Regions from separate parts of the Homo sapiens genome. Here regions 2 and 3 are each linked to region 1. Evidence: promoter capture Hi-C in 16 types of primary human blood cells and fetal thymus (Javierre and others, 2016). All regions are on one chromosome and are shown on one strand. Each heading gives the region's core, a stretch centred on a gene start or on the middle of the fragment in contact. The rest is flanking DNA. Distances are from core to core; before and after follow the strand shown.

Region 1 (2,616 bases), core at 78-2,577:
TGTACCCTAGCCCAATTCCTCCGGTTCCCCCAGTTCCCAGGATTCGGGCCTCAAAGGATAAGGAGGTAGGCGGGGAGTGAGGTTGGGGCTCAACCTGAGTGTGGGTGAAGCAGACTGGGATGGGAACCCCAAGATGCCCAATGGTAGAGTGGGACAGCCGACCTCCCACCATGCCCCCAGATTGATAGTTTCGGGACCCGCAGCAGGAGAGGGCCGCTGCAGGGCGTCTGGGCTTCTGGGGGCAGAGAAGACTCACGCAGTGAGCAGTCCGCAAGCCCGCTGGCGGCAGCGGCGGTGCTCCGTCCAGGGCGAGAAGCTGCAGCGCTCGGGCCGGGGTCCCTCCTGTCGCAGCAGCTCCTCGACGAGTGCAGGGGCAGCCACGTACACGGTGCGCACTGTCCCAAAGCTGGCTAGCCACACCGGCCCGAAGTGCGCGGCGCCCTGCACCTGGGGGAGCGGACACAGCGGACACTTGGATACCTGGGCGGGGACTTTCAGCTTGACCTGTGCCCACGCCAAGGGCGTTGACTGGGCTTGGGAATAGGGAGCTTCTGCTCTTTCTCGGGTGCCCAACTAGTGTATGCCTTTGATACTGCAAACTCCTCCTCTCTCATTTCCCATCCCTAGAAAGTTTGAGTGTGATGGGCAAAACCGGAACTTTGTGCAAGGCAGACATTCAGGACCTCTCTGATCATCTCGGTCGAGGAGAAATCTCTAAAAGTTCCATGTCTGGACTGTCCATCTCAGGACGAGTCCTCAGTGAATGAAAAGGAACCCATGTAGCTTTAAGCCGCAAGCAGGCGGAGGGTACTGCCCACTCCGGCCTCCCCCTCCCGCGCACTTGTACTTTATCTGCAGGATCTCCACACCTCAGGACAGCGAGAAGGCGCTTTCGCAGCGCCCTCTGCTAAGAGTCGGGACGGGCTCTGCCCGAGTGTAGCCACACCGCCCCCAGCCTCAACTCGCCTTTTCCTTATTTCATGGGCATCCGTTCTCTCTGGCTGTCCCACATTTGCTCTGCACTAGTCAGTCCTTTCTGACGCTGTCAAAACCAGTTTCCCCAGCACTCTGTCTCGGGAAAGGCGTCCCTTCCTACCTGCAGCTCGTGTAGCCTCGACAGCCCCCCCTTGCAGAAAAGTTCGGCCAGAAAGCTGGGCGTAGAGGGGCCTGGGATGTCTGCCAAGCTCCGGCGTGCTGAGTGGTACTCTCGGTAGCCTAGGGAGGCGCCCAACTCGGGCGCCCAGCGGACGCGATGGAACACTCTGGAGGCGTACTTGAGGGTCTGGGTCATGGTCTGGTTCAGGGTGCTCGCGAAAGAAAGCGCTTCTCCTGAGCATCATATCTCAACCCCTATTTAACCTTTGGGTGAGGTGATGACGCCCCCTCTCCAAGCTCCTCAGCCAATCCCTCCTCCTGAGTGGTCTGTGCTGGGGATTAGCACCCAGGAACAGTAGGCGGGGCTGGGGCTGACTTCACAACTCCCTTGGGTCTCATGTTGCAATGACCCTCATGGGAGGGAGGGCCTAAGATTTTCCTCCTGGGAGAGTGCCTTTGTCTAGGAGCCTCAAAGTCTCATCCTAGGAAAGGCTATAAGGCTTTTTAGTAGGGACTAGGTGACCAAGCTACACTAGTCAGTCTCTGATATTCCCACTTCTACCAGTGAGCCCAGCCCCTTTAGGCCCATCCTCAGGAATTCCCCATCTTTCAGCTCCTCCAGGAAGGGAAGCAGGGGAGGCACAGCTGTAACTGTCCCCACATTCTTGGCTTAGTGGGTTGTATCTTCTCTGCATTATTTTCCTGCACTAGCCACACCTCCCCCTCCTCCTGTACCTAACATATACTGGGCAGATGGCAGGTGGGTTAATGGGCTAAAATGGCTCCTAGAACCTCCATCTTTCTTTCTTGAGGATAAGGGGGTCTCTTGGGTATACAAGCCCCCTCCTTCCAGACATGGGAATTTGGGGCTTGAGAAGCAGAAATGAAACTTTTTGTACATTAGTTAAGTTCAGAGATTGTCTGTGGGGTGTTAGAGGAGCTAAATGGATGTGGATGTTCTAATTCCCCAGCTGACTCGGTCTCCTCTGGGGGGCTTTCTGGTTAGCAGCTCCTTTCTACTTTTAGCCTCAGAATCCTGTGGTGGCTCATGCCTATAATCCCAGCACTTTGGGAGGCTGAGGCAGGAGGATGGCATGAGGCCAGGAGGTTGAGACAAGCTTGAGCAACATAGCAAGACTGTCTCTACAGAAGAAGTTTAAAAATTAGGCTGGGCACGGCAGCTCATGACTGTAATCCCAACACTTTGGGAGGCTAAGGTGGGCAGACTGCTTGAGCTCAGGAGTCTGAGACCAGCCTGGGCAACATAGTGGAACTGTCTCTACAAAAAATACAAAAATTAGCCAGGCATGGTGGCGTATGCCTGTAGTGCCTTGAGAGGCTGAGGTGGATTACATGAGCCCGGGAGGTCAAGGCTGCAGTGAGTTATGATTGTACCACTGCACTCCAGCCTAGGCAACAGAGAGAGGGCCTGTCTCTAAAAAAAATTAAAATAAAAGAATCTCCCACAGTTTACCTCTCTGCTCCTTACTCCCTCATTCCCCACTGCAACTCTATCAGGCT
Region 2 (2,616 bases), core at 71-2,570, 190 kb before region 1:
TTTTTTGAGATGGAGTCTCACTCTGTCGCCCAGGCTGGAGTCCAGTGGTGTGATCTCGGTTCACTGCAACCTCCGCCTCCTGGGTTCAAGCAATTTCCTGCCTCAGCCTCTTGAGTAGCTGGGATTACAGGCATGTGCCATGATGCTTGGCTAATTTTGTATTTTTAGTAGAGACAGGGTTTCACCACCATGTTGGTCAGGCTGGTCTCGAACTCCTGACCTCAGGTGATCCACCCACCTTGACCTCCCAAAGTGCTGAGATTACAAGGCATGAGCTACTGCGCCCAGCCAGAATTGGATTTTTAAATGCAGGCGGAGGAATTTAATGTGAAATGCCGCTGATAGAGAGCTGCTAAAGGTCGTTTGGAAAATACCCATCCCATTTGAGTCCCTGCGTATGTGGGTGTGTATGGGTAGGTAGAAGGTGGGAGGGAACAGATAAAGCTTCCCAGCAGCCAAGAAGCATCTCTTCCTCCTTTAATCACCTTAGCCAGTGGAGATCAGTGGGGCCATCGAGGAGGAGTTCACTGTGGCCCGACTCTACATCAGCAAAATCAAATCAGAAGTCAAGTCTGTGGTCAAGCGGTGCCGGCAGCTGGAGAACCTCCAGGTGGAGTGTCACCGCAAGATGGAAGTGACCGGGCGGGAGCTCTCATCCTGCCAGCTCCTCATCTCTCAGGTGAGTGCCTAAGTTTGAGAACCTTCAGATGCCATGGGAGAAAGAAGGCTACTCTGGGGTTATGGCTAAAACTCCTAACACCCACCTTTATGTCAAAGTTCTGGGGTCAAGTGAAATCAAGGACAGAAAAGCTGGGGTGGCAGGGGTGCAGATCAGGGCCAAAAAAGTAAAGGCTCAGGGCGGGTACTGCCCCCTGAGCCATGGGAGCTAAAGGAAGAGCCCCATAGGAATGGCCCCCAACCCTGCACCCTCATGGGAAGTGTAGCAGGAGGGAGGGCTGGGAGGAGAGCTGGAGTTGGAGATCTGTGTGGCCTGGGTTTGTGTCCTTTGCTCCATCTTCTTCCTCTCACCAACTTTCTCCCACCAGCATGAGGCCAAGATCCGCTCGCTTACGGAATACATGCAGAGCGTGGAGCTAAAGAAGCGGCACCTGGAAGAGTCCTATGACTCCTTGAGCGATGAGCTGGCCAAGCTCCAGGCCCAGGGTGAGGCCTTCTTATACCTCCATCCCACTGTCCAGGGCAGAAAAGTCAGAAACATCAAAATAAATCACCCCAATAATCACTCACTCAAAGCATTAGCTTGAAATCATGGATGCCAACTCATATGTTAGCCAAGGTTTTGCATGTAGCTCATTTTACATTAACCATACACCCTTGTTCTCTGTTCCTGCTATATCAAATTGGACAGTCCTAACACAGAAGAACATCCCTGTGGGTCCATTCCCAGCCCTGCCTGGAGTTCTGGTCACAACGTGAAGTTCTTTCCGAAAGAGGTAGGTTTGATGTCAGCTGTCTTCCCCTCTTTCCCTTAGAAACTGTGCATGAAGTGGCCCTGAAGGACAAGGAGCCTGACACTCAGGATGCAGATGAAGTGAAGGTGAGTAAGGAAGGTGTCAGGGACAATTGGGGCCTGGTGTGGTGAAAGCTGTGCTGGCCCTCACAGAGCTTGTTGCTGGGAGTCTGGCCTTTGAGCTTGGGGTGGGGTTGTTTGCAGAAGGCTCTGGAGCTGCAGATGGAGAGTCACCGGGAGGCCCATCACCGGCAGCTGGCCCGGCTCCGGGACGAGATCAACGAGAAGCAGAAGACCATTGATGAGCTCAAAGAGTAAGGGTTCCCAAGGGCGACTCCAGCCCCTCCCGGGTCCTGTCACCTTGCTGTATTGACTCACATGTCCCCTCTGGGTCTGATTCTTTAACATCCATGTGTCATTCCCTCAACAATGCCACAACTTCGTAGCCCCACCTCAGGAGACACATGGAATAACGACTAGTCCCTATCCTTGAGGGTCCCAGGATTAGAGAGGTCAGGGTTCCTGGCTCTGTCATGGAAACAGTGGCCTGAGTCTGCCTCTGGTATCTGAAGGTGGACACATCAATTCTAACTGGACTCACTCGTTCAAAAAGGAAGAAGTTTGAAGAGCTGGCCTTCCCTTCCCCCTCATTAACATCTTTCTCCCCCATCTCCATTACCTTCTGATGCTCTGTAGCCTAAATCAGAAGCTCCAGTTAGAGCTAGAGAAGCTTCAGGCTGACTACGAGAAGCTGAAGAGCGAAGAACACGAGAAGAGCACCAAGCTGCAGGAGCTGACGTGAGTGGCATGGATTTACCTGTAAAACTACAGCCTTGTAGGCTCAGAACTGTGAACTCAGACACGCTTGCAGAGGCAGGACACACATGCAGACATGATAGGGTGACTCATGGGAAAAATATGATGGGGTAGGGACGGGACCAAAAGGACACTCTCAGCAAAGACTGCCGTTGAGTATTCACCAGTATGGAAGGAGGTTTACGTGTTCTATTCAGTGTAAAAACAGGTTACAAAACCATATGCATGGTATGATCCCATAAAAATGTATACATGGATATGTAGGCATAGAAAAAAGTCTAGAAAGGTGGACACCAGAAGGTTAATGTTGGTTTGATCTGTAAATAGTA
Region 3 (2,616 bases), core at 47-2,546, 150 kb after region 1:
GAAGATCATCTTCCCACCCCATCCCCCTTTCAGTTCCCCATCCATGCCTCTGAGCGCCATCTCCACCATTCAATAAAACCCCTGCATTCATCCTTCAAGTCCATGTGTGACCTGATTCTTCCGGGACACTGGACAAGAGCTCAGGATGCAGAAAGCTGCCACACTGGCCCTCTGCCCTTGCAAAAAGGCAGAGGGTCCACTGAGCTGGTTAACACTAGCAAGGCTAAAAGCGCACACTGTAACACATGCCTGTTGGGTTCCAAGAGTCACAGGCTCCCAACCCTGGATGCTGCCATGGGGCCGGAGCCCAGCACCCTGGCTCCTTCACATGTCCATCTGTGTGCTCCCCATCCTGTAAGGGGTTTGATCAGTGGCAGCGACCTAACAGATGAGCCACACCCCTGTCACATGTCCTGCAAGGGGGGTCAGGGAACTCTCCTATTTCACTACTAATATGTCAGACACTAAAACCATCTTTATTAATCCTGCAACAACTCTGCAAGGTAGATCTTTTAAAAAATTTTTATTTTCATTTCAATTTTTTTTGGGGTACAGATGGCTTTTGGTTATATGGGTAAGTTCTTTAGTGGTGATATCTGAGATTTTAGTGTACCCATCACTTGAGCAGTGTACACCATACCCAATGTATAGTCTTTTATCTCTCACCCCTCCCAACCTTCTCCCCACAAGTCCCCAAAGTCTTCCCACGAATTTTCTTATGCCTTTGCGTCCTCACAGCCTAGCTCCCACTTATGAGAACCTATGATATTTGGTTTTCCATTCCTGAGTTACTTCACTTAGAATAATGACCTCCAGCTCCATCCAAGTTGCTGCAAAATACATCATTTCATTCCTGCAAGGTAAATCTTATTATCTCTATTTAACAGATGAAGACACAGACTTAGAGGGGCTATATAACATGCCCAAGCTCATAAAGATCATCAAAGCAGAGCCAAAAGTCAAACGTATTGTTTTTATCCAAAGCCTGTGCTGTTTCCAGGATAACTATGCAGCCTCCATCAGGCTGGGGAAGGAGAGGACCCAGATGGGCTTGTTGAAGTACCAGTGGGTAATTGGTGAAGTGGCCAAGGGTAGGAGGAGTGCAGGGTAAGAAAGAAAGAGCAAGGGAAGGAAGTTGAGGTGTGGCATAAGCAGGGAAAGCTGTTGGATGCAGGGTTGGAGTTAGTGGGGGTGGTTTCCTCCACCCTCCACAGGTCGATGGCTTGAAGGCTAGCCAGGCAGGTGGACTTTGAGGAAGAAGACATGAGTGAGGTGCTTGAGTCCCTTAAAGAGGAGTTGTGGCTCCTGGCTGGTTCTACAATATTGCTCATTGACAGATGGGCCTTTTCCTGCGTGGGATTCTGAGGATGGTAAGAACAAAGTGAGGGTTAAAGGCGTGTGCCCACTCTAGTCAGTCAACAGCTTTGAGCTTCTTGAGATTTGCAATGTGCATTCAGTCAGTTCCAAGCAACCTTTGATGTTAGCTGTCTTCTCCTGGCACATAGTTCTTGATAATGTTTAGTTTCACATCCATAGGTTTAGCTTTTTCCCTGTTCCTTGGTGTCAGAGTTTCAAAACAGTGAAAATTTTTTCTTACATGATGAAAATATGTGAATAAAACAGACACATTTTGCAAGAAAGACAAACACAACACAATACCAGTCTCAAGACACTGACAAGCATAAGGGGTATGTGGGTATCTATTTGAGTGGTTATCCCCAGGGCATAATATTTTCACTATATCCTACTGCTGGGGTGGCAGCCAGACTGACTACATGATAGGGGCTGGGTGCTTGCCTTCTTCTAGGTCCCATACTGTTTCAAAGTATAGTTGAAAAAAAAAAAAAAGAAGGAAAAATTCCAAATAGAGAATCGACATGGTTCTAAATCCACATAATATAAACTCATGGATGCAAGCTGCTCATGATTCCACAGACCTTTACCTAAAATTCTTTTGGAAAATGCATCAATTTTAGGATATATAGATAGACATGATGATTACAGTTGTATTTTTTTAAAAGTGAGTATTACCAGTAGTTTAAAAAACACTGTGGCCGGGCACAGTGGCTTACACCTGTAATCCCAGCAATTTGGGAGGCTGAGGTGGGCTGATCACAAGAGGTTGGGAGTTCGAGACCAGCCTGGCTAACATGGTGAAACCCCGTCTCTACTAAAAATACAAAAATTAGCTGGGTGTGGTGGTGGGTGCCTGTAACCCCAGCTACTCAGGAGGCTGAAGCAGGAGAATGGCTTGAACCTGGCAGGCAGAGGTTGCAGTGAGCCGAGATCGTGCCACTGCACTCCAGCCTGGGCGACAGAGCGAGACTCTGTCTCAAGAAAGAAAGAAAGAAAGAAACAAACAAACAAACAAAAAAACCCACTGTGGGCTGGGTGCAGTGTCTCACGTCTATAAACCAGCATTTTGGGAGGCTGAGGCATACGGATTGCTTGAGCTCAGGAGTTTGATACCAGCCAGGGCAACATAGTAAGACACTGTCTCTACAATTTTTTTTTTTATATCATTCTGGTGTGTGGTAGCTTATACCTGTAGTCCCACCTACTTCGGGGGCTGAGATGGGAGGATCGCTTGAGACATGGAGGTTGACATTGCAGCGA

Evidence for each region. The method cuts DNA at HindIII sites, captures the fragments that hold promoters and counts their contacts. A CHiCAGO score of 5 or more calls a contact.
Region 2: a contact is called between a fragment that was not itself captured here and the fragment with the promoter of CYP27B1 in region 1, in 9 of 17 cell types (naive B cells, naive CD4 T cells, M2 macrophages and 6 more). The highest score is 7.6, in naive B cells.
Region 3: a fragment that was not itself captured here is called in contact with the fragment with the promoter of CYP27B1 in region 1 in 13 of 17 cell types (naive CD8 T cells, total CD8 T cells, naive CD4 T cells and 10 more); the score reaches 16.6 in naive CD8 T cells.

What each region holds. Positions count from the first base shown.
Region 1 is chr12:57,765,751-57,768,366 of GRCh38, forward strand. CYP27B1 (cytochrome P450 family 27 subfamily B member 1) reads right to left here and starts at 1,328. Exons shown (of 9, transcript NM_000785.4): 1 at 1,097-1,328; 2 at 257-447. The coding sequence starts at 1,291. The HindIII fragment of the contact is 11,205 bases long and covers 1-2,211 here.
Region 2 is chr12:57,574,594-57,577,209 of GRCh38, forward strand. It overlaps KIF5A (kinesin family member 5A), which reads left to right. Exons shown (of 29, transcript NM_004984.4): 16 at 491-679; 17 at 1,047-1,164; 18 at 1,494-1,558; 19 at 1,676-1,785; 20 at 2,168-2,269. Among named protein-coding and RNA genes, the nearest start is that of PIP4K2C, 15 kb to the right of the region's middle. The HindIII fragment of the contact is 1,757 bases long and covers 443-2,199 here.
Region 3 is chr12:57,913,635-57,916,250 of GRCh38, forward strand. No RefSeq gene overlaps it. Among named protein-coding and RNA genes, the nearest start is that of GIHCG, 21 kb to the right of the region's middle. The HindIII fragment of the contact is 9,190 bases long and covers 1-2,616 here.